Linked DNA regions of Homo sapiens: all the other regions are linked to region 1. The links are contacts of gene promoters, found by promoter capture Hi-C in human tissues and cell types (Jung and others, 2019). All regions are on one chromosome and are shown on one strand. The core of a region is centred on a gene start or on the middle of the fragment in contact, and the rest is flanking DNA. Distances in the headings are between cores, read along the strand shown. Region 1 holds the start of CYB5R2 (cytochrome b5 reductase 2). Region 2 has its middle 5.6 kb from the start of SYT9. Region 3 overlaps SYT9 (synaptotagmin 9).

What was found. Contacts are between HindIII fragments. The study calls those that stand out against the background at their distance.
Region 2: a contact is called between a fragment that was not itself captured here and the fragment with the promoter of CYB5R2 in region 1, in 2 of the 25 tissues and cell types used here (dorsolateral prefrontal cortex and hippocampus).
Region 3: a fragment that was not itself captured here is called in contact with the fragment with the promoter of CYB5R2 in region 1 in 1 of the 25 tissues and cell types used here (lymphoblastoid cells).

What each region holds. Positions count from the first base shown.
Region 1 is chr11:7,671,405-7,675,899 of GRCh38, reverse strand. It overlaps CYB5R2 (cytochrome b5 reductase 2), which reads left to right and starts at 2,400. Exons shown (of 9, transcript NM_016229.5): 1 at 2,400-2,481; 2 at 3,009-3,152; 3 at 3,377-3,449. The coding sequence starts at 3,075. RefSeq lists a silencer at 1,888-2,097 and enhancers at 2,618-2,717, 2,738-2,787. The HindIII fragment of the contact is 10,078 bases long and covers 1-4,495 here.
Region 2 is chr11:7,244,021-7,248,515 of GRCh38, reverse strand. It overlaps a transcript of SYT9 not described here. Among named protein-coding and RNA genes, the nearest start is that of SYT9, 5.6 kb to the left of the region's middle. The HindIII fragment of the contact is 9,657 bases long and covers 1-4,495 here.
Region 3 is chr11:7,304,039-7,308,533 of GRCh38, reverse strand. The region is part of intron 2 of SYT9 (synaptotagmin 9); the gene reads right to left. Among named protein-coding and RNA genes, the nearest start is that of SYT9, 54 kb to the right of the region's middle. RefSeq lists an enhancer at 543-692. The HindIII fragment of the contact is 3,938 bases long and covers 725-4,495 here.

The sequences.
Region 1 (4,495 bases), core at 1,151-3,650:
TAAAGAATGTATAAGAATGAAAGACATAAACACTTGTTGTAAACTACCGTAACTAAAACAGTGTAGTATTGCGACAAGGTTGGGCAGCTAGATAATGTAAGAGAAATGGGAGGCCGGAGCTAGACTCACACACCTATGAAAACTGATATAGGCCAGGGGTAGCAGGTCAGTTGCAGGTCAGTGGCCAGATGTGAGCAATTCAATAAATGTTACTGAAAAACACACATTAGCCACATGGAAAAATGAAATTGTATCCCTGCCTCACATCCTACACAGAAATCAATTCCAAGTGGTTGAAAAACTTAAATGTGAAAGGAAAATCTTTAAATCTTGTTGGGGAAAATATAGAATATCTTTAAGGGCTTGGGTAGAAATAGACAAGTCACAAAAATCACTAACCATAACGGCAAAAAAATTGAAGATTGGTATATTTGGTTATACTGCAATTCAAATTTCTATTCATCAGACTACACCACAAAAAGGTGGGACAGAAAAGAAAGAAAGAAAAAAGAAAGAATAAGTTACAAATTACGAGAAAACATTACTAATTCATGTAACTGGCAAAGAAGGGATATCTAAAACATATAAAACCCCTAAAAATCAGTAAGAAAAAGACAACAGAAAAATGAGCAAAATTTATGAGCAGGCATTTTTTTTTTTCTGAAAAGGAAACTCCATGGGAAATAAATATATGAAAGGTGCTCAAACTTATTAGCAGTTATTAGGTAATGCAAATTGGATTCCTGATACATCATTTTACACTTATCGCATTGTCAAAAATTAAAATATCTGCCTATAATAACCAAGCACCTGCAGGTAAATCAAAAGTAAAGGCATTTGATTAAGTCAAAGAGAGAAAATTAAGTTTGTTTATTCATTCACACAGCAAGAATTTTTGAGCCTGTGGTGGTGTGTGTCTTGGGGAGAAGGGTTGGTAAAGTGTTATGGGTTATTGTTTTCACCCTGATTCTTATGTTGAAGCCCTAAGCCCCAGTACCTAAGGATATGACCTTATTTGAAGGTAGAGCCTTTACATAGGTAATCAAGTTAAAACAAGGTCATTAGGATGGACCCTAATTGAATATGACTGGTGTCTTCATAAAAGGGGAAATTTGGACACAGGGACACACACAGAGGGATGAAAATGTGGAGACATAGGAAGAAGATGCCCCTTCTCCTAGCCCCTCTCCTACAAACCTAGGAGAGGCATGGAACAGATCCTTCCCTCACAGCCCTCAGAAGGAACCCACTCTGCCCACACCTTGATTTTGGACTTCCAGCCCCCAGACCTGCGAGACAATAAATTTTTGTTGTTTAAGCCGCTCAGTCTGCGGCACTTTGTTACAGCAGCCCTAGCAGAGTCAAACAGGTGGGGATCTGCTTCTGGGCTTCTCTGTTTCACACAGGTCCTGAGGCAAGAATTTGCCTTTGCCTGTAATCAAGGGCGAGCCGGGCAGCCAAGGTTCCGAAACGCACCGTGAAGACCCTCTAACTGTGCCTACTATTCTGCTCCCCTCCGATCGGCGCGGGGCTCTTGTCCTTCCTCTCTCCACCCAGCGAATGAATGAACGCAGGAGCGCTCGGAGTACACGTCTTCAACTCGGCGACGCCCCTGCTTCGGCCCCACCCCGCAAACACCCGCCCCGGACCAGGCCCAGGGTAGGCGCCCATGAGGTATGTCGAATGAATATATTCGCGCGCTCTTTGCAGCTGCCTGAATTCTTCCTTCCCCAGCATCCCCCTCCGCCCGGTCACCCAGACGGCCTTCTCCAGCCTTGCCGAGCTTAAGTAAGCTGAGGGGCGCTCAGTGTGGCAGCTCTGCGTGTGCAGGGAAGGGGCCAGGATGCAGAGGGGCAGCGCAGGAGCGAGGACGCCACGGCTCAGCGCCCCGCCAGCCTCATGATGGAGCGCTGCCCTGGGGGCAGGGCTGACCCAGAGCCAGCGGCTCGTGAGTGAGAGCCCCCCGACCACGGCCCTTCTCGGGGAGCGGGCCAGCCGCCGGGGTCCCAGCCTGCGGGGTCCGCCCGCGCTTTTGTCCTCCCGGGCGTGCGTGTCCGGGTCTCGGCCGGTTCCCCGTCGGCCAGGCGGAGCTGCGGGGCGACGCCACGAGTCTGCGGGCCCGCGGCGGGGAGCGGCCCCCGGCCAACCCCAGTTCGACGACGTGTTGGGCGTCTCACTCCGGGTGGGTTCCGCGGCGGGGTGTATTTATGGAGTATTGAAGAAATATCTCCGTCGGGACGGCCGGAAGGAAAGAGGCCAGAGGCGCGGAGGCCGGCTAGAGCCGGGAACGAACGTCCGACCGGGAGGTTGGGGGCCGGAGCGGGAGGCGTGGGGAGAGGTCGTGGGCGGGACCGCGAAGGGCGGGGAGTGGGGCGGGCCGGCTCGGATTCCGGAAGGCTGAGACTCCAGTGACCCGGCGGGAGGAGAGGCAACTTTCCCTGTCGGGCTTGAGTTGGGAGAGGAGCAGGGCGGCCTTGTAGGGTAGGGACAGATGCGGGGAGGCTCCCGAGTCTCTGGCAGTTGAGTGCCCAGGCCCCCTTCGCCCTGTCCAGGAGACTGTTGGGGAGTCCCCAGGCCCTAAGTCACGGGGCACCTCTTAGAGCTACGCACCCTAGTTCTGTCTTTAGGGACTGGGCCCCTCATTCCGGATTGTGTGTTAGGGGTGATGTCCTCCCCCTTCACCTCAAGGAAGGGACTTCCAGTGTATGAACCTTTGGCTGTAGCCAGGAGGGGCCTAGTGACCTGAGCACCCCAGGCCATGTGTGCTGCCTGCTCCAGGGGCCTGAAACATCCTTCCTGTGTGACCTGCAGCTGACCCCTCCCTACCCTCTGGTCCACGACAGGCTCTCCCAGCCGCCTTCTGTGTCACTACTGTTCTCTTTGCCTATTTCCTGCAGGCAGAGCTCAGCTCCTGTGCCTTTGGTGTGGGGAGGGTGTTCTGCGCCTGAGAGCTGCCCTGTCCAGGGCGGGCAAGACCTGAGGTGCTCTGTTCACATTGTGTCTGCCAGGACCCGTCCCTGCTCCTGACCATCACCGTCACTGGGGTCACTGTGCTCGTGTTGGTCCTGAAGAGCATGAACTCCAGGAGGAGAGAGCCAATCACCTTACAGGACCCTGAAGCCAAGTACCCGCTGCCCTTGATTGAGAAAGAGGTAATGGGTCAGCCCTGTGGGTGGAAGGCAGTAAGTGGATGATGGCTGGGATGGCAGGGCATCCAGACAGTCATCTCATGGCCTCCAGTTCACTCCCCGCCGCCCTGTGTGTGTGTGTGTGTGTGCTGGAATAGCGCCAAACGGACCTCCTTTCCCAGGCATCTCAGCTGCCCAGCAAGGCTTCTAGAAAGCTGACAGAACCTGCCTATGTTTTGTTTTATCAGAAAATCAGCCACAACACCCGGAGGTTCCGCTTTGGACTGCCTTCGCCGGACCATGTCTTAGGGCTTCCTGTAGGTGAGCCGGGCTTGGGTCATCACCAGGACTGGGGCCTCTGGGGGCTAGGCCCTCCTCTCTTAACAGAAACACAGGTTTCCCACGTCCTGAGGTGTGGAAGATGCCCTCTTGCTCCTCCTGAGCCTGTGAGCTCAGGGAGATAGATAGGGGGATGGATGTGGGACAGAAAATTTCTTTTCTTCATTATTCCAATTGGGCTGACACGAGAGTGGTACCTCAGTGAGCATTGAAAAGAACTGAACCTAGAGCCAAAAGGCCTAAAATCTCATGGAAGGCTCCTTGCTGGGGAACTTAAGGGAAGTCCTTCAATCTCTCTGAGCCTCAGTCTATGAAATGGGATTTCCCAGGCCTGCCTGTCTACCTCACTTGGGTTGTTGTGAAAGTAGAGTGACTGATGGATATGAAAATTCAGAAACTACAAAGTATTGTGCACCTGGGAGGGATGGGAGGAACCAGTGGTCGGGGAAAGGCCCAGAATGTGCGGGTAGGCAGGAATGAGTCAGGTGTGCCCTGCCCCCAAGGTCACTTAGATTCTCTGCAGGGGCCTCAGACCCACATAAGGAGGGACCAGCCCTACGAGTTGCAGATTCCAGCCCTAGGAGTCCTAGAGTTGAGTTATCCCATTTCTAATCTGTAACACCACTAGATAGCTGAGTCAGTCTTAGTGCAGTAGAAAACTGCTAGAATCAGGGATTCAGAGCAGCTTTGTATAATCTGCTAGTGCTGCTTGCCTGCCTGGTGGATCCTACTCCGTGGCCTATTTGTCTTATATGCACAGGCCAAAACCTTGACCTCAGCTCTATCAGGTGGTGAGATTACACTCTAGCCAGCTCGCTGGGCCCCTGAGCCTCCTTGCTGTTCCCTCACTCCATCTCTATGCACGAGAGCTCAGTGTTGTGCGTGCCGTCTCTCAGCTCCCTGCTCGGCCTGTCAGGCAGGTCCTGTTGGCAGGAAGCCTAAAAGAATGAAAAACTTTGAGATAGAGAATTGCTTAGAAACTGCCTTGACCCACTATCTCCTCAGCCTTGGCCTAGGCCGTGCAAAGT
Region 2 (4,495 bases), core at 557-3,056, 430 kb after region 1:
TCTCACCTTATACAAAAATCAACTCAAGATGGATTAAGGACTTAAATCTAAGAGCTGAAACTATAAAAATTCTGGAAGATAACATTGTAAAAACTCTTCTAGACATTGGCTTAGGCAAGGATTTCGTGACCAAGAACCCAAAAACAAATGCAATAAAAACAAAGATAGATACATTTCTGGGACTTAATTAAACTAAAGAGCTTTTGCACAGGAAAAAAAAAACAGCAGAGTAAACAGACAACTCACAGAGTGGGAGAAAAATCTTCACAATCTATACATCTGACAAAGGACTAATATCCAGAATCTACAACGAACTCAAACAAATCAACACGAAAAAAACAAACAATCCCATCAAAAAGTGGGATAAGGACATGGATAGACAATTCTCAAAAGAAGATATACAAATGGCCAACAAACATGAAAAAATGGTCAACATACTAATGAACAGGGAAATTGAAATCAAAAGCACAATGCGATACCACCTTACTCCTGCAAGAATGACCATAATCAAAAAATCAAAAAACAGTAGATGTTGGTGTGGATGCAGTGAACAAGGAACAATTCTACATTGCTGATGGGAATGTAAACTGGTACAACCACTATGGAAAACAGTGTGGAGATGCCTTAAAGAACTAAAAGTAGAACTACCATTTGATGCAGCTGTCCCACTACTGGGTATCTACCCAGAGCAAAAGAGGTCATTATACGAAAAAGATACTTGCACATGTATGTATATAGCAGCACAATTCACAATTGCAAAAACACAGAACCGACCCAAATGTCCATCAATCAATGAGTGGATAAAGAAACTGTGATATATATATATATATACACACATATATACGTATATATACATATGTATATATATATATCACGTATATATACACGTATATATACACGTATATATGTATATATACGTATATATACACATATATATGTATATGTGTATATATGTGTATATACATGTATACGTGTATATATATGTATATATGTGTGTATATATGTATATATGTGTATATATATGTGTGTGTATATATATATGTATATATATATGATGGAATACTACTCAGCCATAAAAAGGAATGAATTAACGGCATTCATAGTGACCTGGATGAGACTGGAGGCTATTATTCTAAGTGGAGTAACTCAGGAATGGAAAACCAAACATCTTATGTTCTCACTCACAAGCAGAGCTAAGCTGTGAGGATGCAAAGACATAAGAATGACACAATGGACTTTGGGGACTCAGGGGAAAGGGTGGGAAGGGGGCAGGAGATAAAAGACTTCAAATAGGGTGCAGCGTATAGTGCTTGGGTGATGGATGCACCAATATCTCACAAATCATCTCTAAAGAATTTAATCATGTAACCAAACACCACCTGTTCCCCAATAACCTATAGAAATAAAAAATAATTTTTAAAAAGAGTCATCAAAGAGTTTGCTTTCTCTCTGCCATGTGAGGACACAGTGAGAAGGCAGCTCTCTGCAAGCCAGGAAGAAAGCCCTCACTAGAAATGGAATTGGCTGCAACCTTGAGCTTGGACTTCCCAGACTTCTGACTGTGAGAAAATAAATTTCTATTGTTTAAGCCACCCAGTATATGCTATTTTGTTACAGTAGCCCTGGAAGACTAAAATAGATGCCTCAGTCAACAGCCAGCCCAAGACCTCACACATGTGAGTGAGGCCATGGACCTCTCGAACTTGGACCTTCCAGCCCACAAATGAGCACAGCAGACAATAAGTGAAGCAGAGGTGAACCATCCCCATTTACCAAATTTCTCACCCACAAAATCATGAGCAATAAAATGGTGGTTGTTTTAAGTCATAGAGTTTGGGAGCAACCTTTTAATGCAGCAGTAGACATCTGAAATAGGCAAAAAACTGGTAAATGATAGAAACAGGACTGGAATCCACATCTTTGTGGCTCCAAAGCCTCTGTTCTTCTGCAATTATAGTAGAGTGGTGAGGGTGGAACCAGCTGAACACAGGATTAAAAAGTACATGGAAATTGAAGAAGTAGAGTTAGCTGAAATATGTTACCTTTCCCCAACTATTTGTTCTTTCATTCATTGAACAAATATGTATTCTTCTATGATTCAGAAAGCATGACAGAGGAAGTCCCCTGTGACTCAGGAAGCCTTCCAGGTCCTGGGTAATATATAGAGAAATAAACAATGATCCTTGCTCTCTAAGGCAGTGCTTCTCAGTCTTGTACTTGTCGTGGCATAGATAGAAAGTGAACTTTTTACAGCACATGGGGGTAAGGGACTAGGCCACTGGTGGCCAGCAGGGACTGTGGCAGAAGGAATCAAAGTCTCAGCCCAGGTATTACCCATTCTGTGGCACATCAAGCTTCCCTGGTGCCCTGGTTAGGAAGTTTTGCTGTTTAGACCTACCAAGTAGAAGTAAAAGTAAATCTTTTGAGAGAAGGACAAAGAGAAGATGGTAACTGAAAAAAAAAAGTGCATAGAAGAAAAGCTGTTTGAAGATAGGAGCGACTTCAGAATGTTTTTATCAATGTTTCCCAAAGTAAGGTTCACTTGCCTTCTTTTCTGAAATTGCCTGGATTTCTTATGAAAATGCTGGTTCCTCGGATTCACTCAGACCTACACAATTATTTCGTAAAGAGCATCCCAGATGCTATGGTTGGACAAAAATACATGTTGAAATTTAATTGCCATTTTAACAGTATTAAAAGGTAGAATGTTGATGAGATGATTAGGCCATGAGGGCTCCACTTGCATGGGTAGAATTATGCTGTTATAAAAGGGTGAGTTTGGCCCCCTTTTGTCTCTTTGCCCTTCCACCATCTACGATGTGATGATACAGTAAGAAGGCCCTTGCCAGATGCCAGTGCCTTGATCTTAGACTTCCCAGACTCCAGAATTATAAGACAATAAATGTTTTTTCTTTTTAAATTACCTAATCTCAGGTATCCTGTTACAGCAGTACAAACAGAATAAGACACTGGGTAATGCTTCTGAACAATGAAATTTGAGAACCTCCAGTTTATATGCTGACGAAAAAAGCCTTTGGTGGGTGACGGAATAGAACCCTGACTCAAAAAACAAAAACAAAAACAAAAAAAAAAGAGAGAAAAGAAAAGAAAAAGGCCTTTGGAAAAAGATCTTTGAAGTCACCTACAATGTCCCTGAATGATATACATTAATGATTATAACTAATCATTATTAAGCATTTGTTATATACCATCATGCACTTGATATATGTTGTTGCATTTAATCCTGGCCACCCAGCAAGGCACACATTATGTTTCCATTTTACATTTACAGATGAGGAAACAAGAACAGAGAAGTTTAGTAACTTCTCCATGGAACTTCTCCAGCTTATTGGAGACAGCCAGCATTCAAATTCAAATTTGTCTGGCTCCAGAGCCTGTGTTTTCCATGCCACACTGCTGCTCCAAGTCACGTCCAGAACACAAATATCCGGTATCTTTATCCACTTTTTGTGTGACATTGCTCAGGTTCTCTCATCATCTTATCTGTCTTCTACGTGTGCTGCAATTGGTCAAAATCCTTTCTGAAATAGAGTTCCTGAGCTGAGCCCAGCACTCCTTCACCCTTTAGCATCAACTTCCTGCTCTCTCTGTGCCTCAGGCTTCTGAGTTGCTGCTTGGGTTACAGCATCTCAACATGCCATGGATGAAATCCCATAAATCTTTCATGCTGCTCTTAGACCACATCCTTACCCCTGTTCCTGTGAGCTAGATTCCGTACTTTGGGAAATGGTGTGGGATTCTTAACAGCAAAACTTTCTATTAATTGTCATTTTGTTTTATTCAGTTACTTGCCAGATAGTTGCCTTTAACAAAAGAAAATAAGATTTGATTAGCATGACTGGTTCTCAGTGAACCCATGCTACCTCCTAGTGATTAGCACTCCCATCAAATGCTCAAAAACTTCCTAATTATCCAAAAAAGGTATTCATTCTAACATTTGCTTTAGACCCTGAAGTATACATAATTTATCTGGACCAAGAGACTAGCACTGACTTAGAGTTCATGTTCTGTGACTATCACTGTCATCTTGGGCATCAATAGCCTTTAATCTGTGAGCTTTATTCTTTCCTGTTTCGAGTGAATTTTCTTGAGAGATGAAATAAAAGCAAATTTGGAATTGAGCAGCTCTATTTTGCCCATGTGTGTGTTATCGTTGCACCATTATTCCAGTAGCAGTTGTTCTGGTATGTTCAAAATCTGTATTCCTCTCTCCTGGACTGTGTGGATTTCTTTCCAGTTTTATGATGGACAATTATAAAGTTGTAAGTCCATTTCTTTCACTTTAAAGAAAATAGAGATTTGTTGGCTTTAGAATTTAAAAAGATACACCATATACGAAATATACTGAAAGGAACAGAGGGCCATGTTCCAGGTCGGAGGGCCTGGCACTCCTCTGCCGTCTCTTAGTAGATTCTCGTGGTTTTACATTTGTTCATCGTTTCAGAACAAGGCCAGAAGGGAGAGCAGAGGTCAG
Region 3 (4,495 bases), core at 1,444-3,943, 370 kb after region 1:
CTAGCAGAATGGGACTTTCAGCTCTTCTGCCCCAGCAGCTTTTTCTAGAGTCCCTCATATACACCCACTGCATCTCTGAGTCCAGGCTCTGTACAAGCCAGCACTCATATCCCCAACACCCCTTCCATCGCGGGCTTTCATGTGAAGCCATGAACAAGTGCACCCTAATATATGTTCCTTCACTGCAGTGGCCCACCTCAGAGGTGAAACCTGACCTGTCCTTTCCCTGGTTCTCGGGCACCAGTGTCTACAAGGCTTCAGGATCCAAGGAGAAAAAAGAGAGAAGCAAATTGTGGTTTCAGAAATGTTACTGGTTTCTTTCCTATGTTCAAGTCAAGGCAGGGAATTATGGAAATGGTGGAGACAGGATGTTTTTCTTCAAAACTCCCCTGGTGATGAAGAAGAGAGAGTTAGGTTTTCCTGAACCACAGGCAGACACAGAAGAAGGGGAAATCCTGGATAGGGACAGACACAGTTAGTAGACTACAAGGGCAGGAGGAAGTGAAAATCTGAGGCTTTCTTGGGCTGAAGATTCAAGGGTTTCCAGCATAAGTGAGATAATGACGAGACAGGCATCAGGCCTTGGGGCCAGTGGAGGTGTGTTGTCAAGGGTAGGTGGATACACTGAGGCAAGACCTGCTTCCTCCCACTCCCTCCAAAGTTAAACGGATTTGAAACCTTGAATACTTTATCCTCCATAACTAAGATGAGCCTTTGTTCACCAAAACTTTCTCTACAGTAGCTCACGTCTTATGTCTCTTTTCATTCCCATTGATCCTAGCTGAGTTCAGGCCCTCAGACAGGCCCCTGTATACATCCAATCTTCACCACTGTCCCATGCATCTTATGCATTCTTTCCAGATTAATCTTCTAAAGAACAAATTGAGCACTTCAGTGTGTATAATTGGTGCTCTTGCTGTGGGTCTTTTGTGGGCATGGTTATATATTTTTTCTCTCTTTATTGCCACCACCTAATATTGAATTTTGCCATAGCAAATGCTTGATATCTGTGTCTAGAGTAAATATAGAAATGCTATGGATATAATAGTTTCTGATAATTTAATCCCAGTAGAGAAAACACTCATTTACATATCATTTCGGGGTCTCGTGGAAGTTGAGATAGGTCTAGGCAACTTCCACTTTTGAAGCAGTTAATTTAAATCTGAAGAAATAACTATAATTCAAAAATTATGTTTTAGATGTTTACATTGAACCAATGTTCTCACCACACAAAAATATAACTTAATAGAAATGTGCTACTCATAGTATAATTACATTCAATTTTTGTGTACTATTTACTTGAGTTGTGGCCAGTCATGGGACCTAAATTTAGAGTGTGATGGTTATCTTCCTCTTTCAATTCTGTCAGCATATTTCTGTAACTCTACGGATTGCTTAATTCAGAGGTAAGGTCAAAAACCTAATGTGGGGCTCTTAATGAATGTGAGACCTGGGACAAATGGCCTTCCGCCAGCCTCACACCATTATTACAGGCTCTGCTCAGTTTATACTTCTGGCCCTTTGTCATTCTTGTCAGAAGAGCATGAGAAAAGTGGCCTGATATTGACCAATGTATTCTGTCAGTCATTCATGGAAAAAAGTCCTCCATGTGCCAGGTGGTGCTAGGGGCTGGATAGACAGGAAGAAACAAAACAGATGTGGTCTCTGAGCTCACAGAACTCAGTCTAGAGGGGAGTACAAGCAATAAAGAATCACTTAAAATAATTTAATCCTGTGAAGGCATGAAAACAAGGCAATGCGAGGGAGAATTAAAGTGGGAAGGAGTGGGGGACAGAACACAGACTTCAGATGGAGTGGCCGGGGAGAACTTTCTGAGAAGGTGATGTTTCAGCTAGGGTGTAAGGGAAGTAAAGGTCCCAAGAAGGACAAAAAAAGGAAAAGCATTCCTGGCTGAGGGAACAACGTGTGAAGACCTCAAGGCAGGAAGGGGCTTGGGATGCTGAAGGAACTAAGAGAGAGGCTAGTGCAGCTGCAGTACAACAAGCTTCTTCCAGGCAGTCTCCTATTGAGTTCATGTTAAAATAGTCCCCTAGGGTTCTGCAACATGGTGGCCTTGGCCATAAGGTGAGGCTGTTGGAAGCAGACTGTGGCAGTATTAAAATGCAGGGCCTTAATAGACCTGATAAGGGGTTTGTGGTGTGGTAATTGAAATTTTTGAAAAACTGAAGTGTTACATAAGACATTTGAGAAGGCTTGAGAAAAATAGGATGAACTTTCATCTTAGGACATGAATCAGGAAATGGATTAGATGGCCTTTCAAGGTTCCTTCTATTTTGGGGATCCAGGGATTTTCATACATTTGGAGTAGAGAACTTTATAAAGCTCTGGAATTAAAAAATTCTGAGAAAATTGAAACATCCACATTTCCAGCATATTGAGTCACTGTACAAAAGGGACTTCATTCAAATCAAAAAGAATTGACAGGAATTTTGGATGGTACTAATAGTCACTGAAGAAACTAGACACCGAACATGCTTGATCTTGAAAGAACAACAGAAAGTCATTCTGACCAGAAACATTCTTAGAAGATAAAACAAAGCCCATCTTTAGGACATTTCAAAAAGGCACTGTGTCAGCCAAACATATCCAAGAACACATCCAAGCCGAAGAGGCCAGGTGAGGTTGAGATTTTTGATGTCAATGGTGTGACAGAAACTGTGCCAATCACAAGGATCCTGAAGACACCTTTAAATGGAGGCTGTGTCTTTCGTGCACTGGGAACCCTGAGACTGTGATCATGGCTGTCCTGAGACGGTGATAATGGCTGCAGGATGGAAGCAGTAAGACGGTGTCGGCAGGGAGAAAGTAAAGAACATAATGAGAAAGAAAAGAGAAGAAACAGTAACTGGAAAAGCAGACTGTTTAGAGCTTTCTCAGCAAAGCTTACCTTTCCCCTCCCCAAATATGGGTATCGAAAATGTTAAAGAAGAATGTTAAAAATGCTTTGAGGCATAAAGGAAATTTCATTCTCTTTTTCCTTTTTGTTAGCAAAAAGTGTGTATGTGTGTGTGCATTTTCTCATGATGCAACACAATCCTCAAAGAATTAGAAGACCATGTACTGCTCTTATTGTGGTGAGATCCTGAGACAAGGATATATATTTCCAGACAGACCCCATAAAACTAGGTCAGTAGTAACTTAGGTATGAATGTTTTAAATGCATAAAAATGCAAATTGTCAGTATTAGGTCAAATGCAGCTAGAAAAGAGTAGTTTTCTTATAGTAGTTCAGATATTGCTAAACTTGATTTTTGCCATCAGAAAAGATAATGTAATTGCATGCCTTCAAAACTAAAATAAATCTGAACACAAAGTGCATTTTACAGGGATAATTCCTTCACTCTCCCTTTTAATTTTTTTCCTTCTACCCAATTTCTACAAATCAGTAGTGATAACAGTTATTTTTTAAGCAAATCCTTATTGCTATGCAGTATATTTATATACTTTCCCAGTATAAATATTGTGATAATTATAGTGGCATCATTGCTATCAGTTTGTTAGAATTATGGCAGAGTCCCCAGATCAAATCTAGCAAGATCACAGTACTACCACCATATATTGGAGGAACTCAGACCAGAAAAGTTACATGCAGAGTAGAACCAAATAGGGGGCAATTTCAATGGAAATTTCAATGGAGACTCTATCTAAAAGGCTTTAGCTATTGAAATACTGAAAGGATTTTATTATAAGTCTGCACATTGCATGAACTCTATGACAGCATCAAATAGAGCTCTAGTTATATTTAAGTTTTAAATCTGAAGATAAATCCTAGTGATAAAATCTGAGGATTTCTTCTAAATCAAACGGCAGACAACTACCCATCTCCTCACAGAGGCATATTTTAGATTTGGCTCTTTGATTCAGAATTGAAAATGATGCTAAAATAAGTTTCTGAAACAATCAAATTAGAAACTGGCATATTCCATCCCACTTAATGAGAATGAGTGGAGCCTCTAGGATAAACTCGATTAACATAAAAAGGGTAAAGTCTTATTTCTGTTTCTGGAGAACAAACAGCAAATATTTTTAAAAAATACCTCCAAATTGTGTTTATACCTTCCAAATAACAGCACATGCTATTTCTCTGGCCATCACTCAGGCCAATATTTTCATTCTAAAGAAAGCTGCTTCCTGAGTCTCTTTTCCTGAAATATCTTATCAAAAATGAGTTTTTATATCCAGTGATTTAGAACTGGCTGCTTAGCCTCAAACACACTTTTGTGCAACATCTGAGCCTTGGGAGAGGCCATAATAGCAATACTAACAGCAAAATGGCAGCTCACATTTTGGAACATTTACCAGGTGCCAGACCTGTGCAAGCACATGTCATCATTTCATTCTTAAAACCACCTACAAATCAGTACTATCTACTCCTCTTTTGAAGAAGAGGAAATGGACAGATACGGAGTTTAAGTAATTTGTTCAATGTCACACATGTAAGTAAAGCCAATTCATTTGACTTGAGAGACCGCATC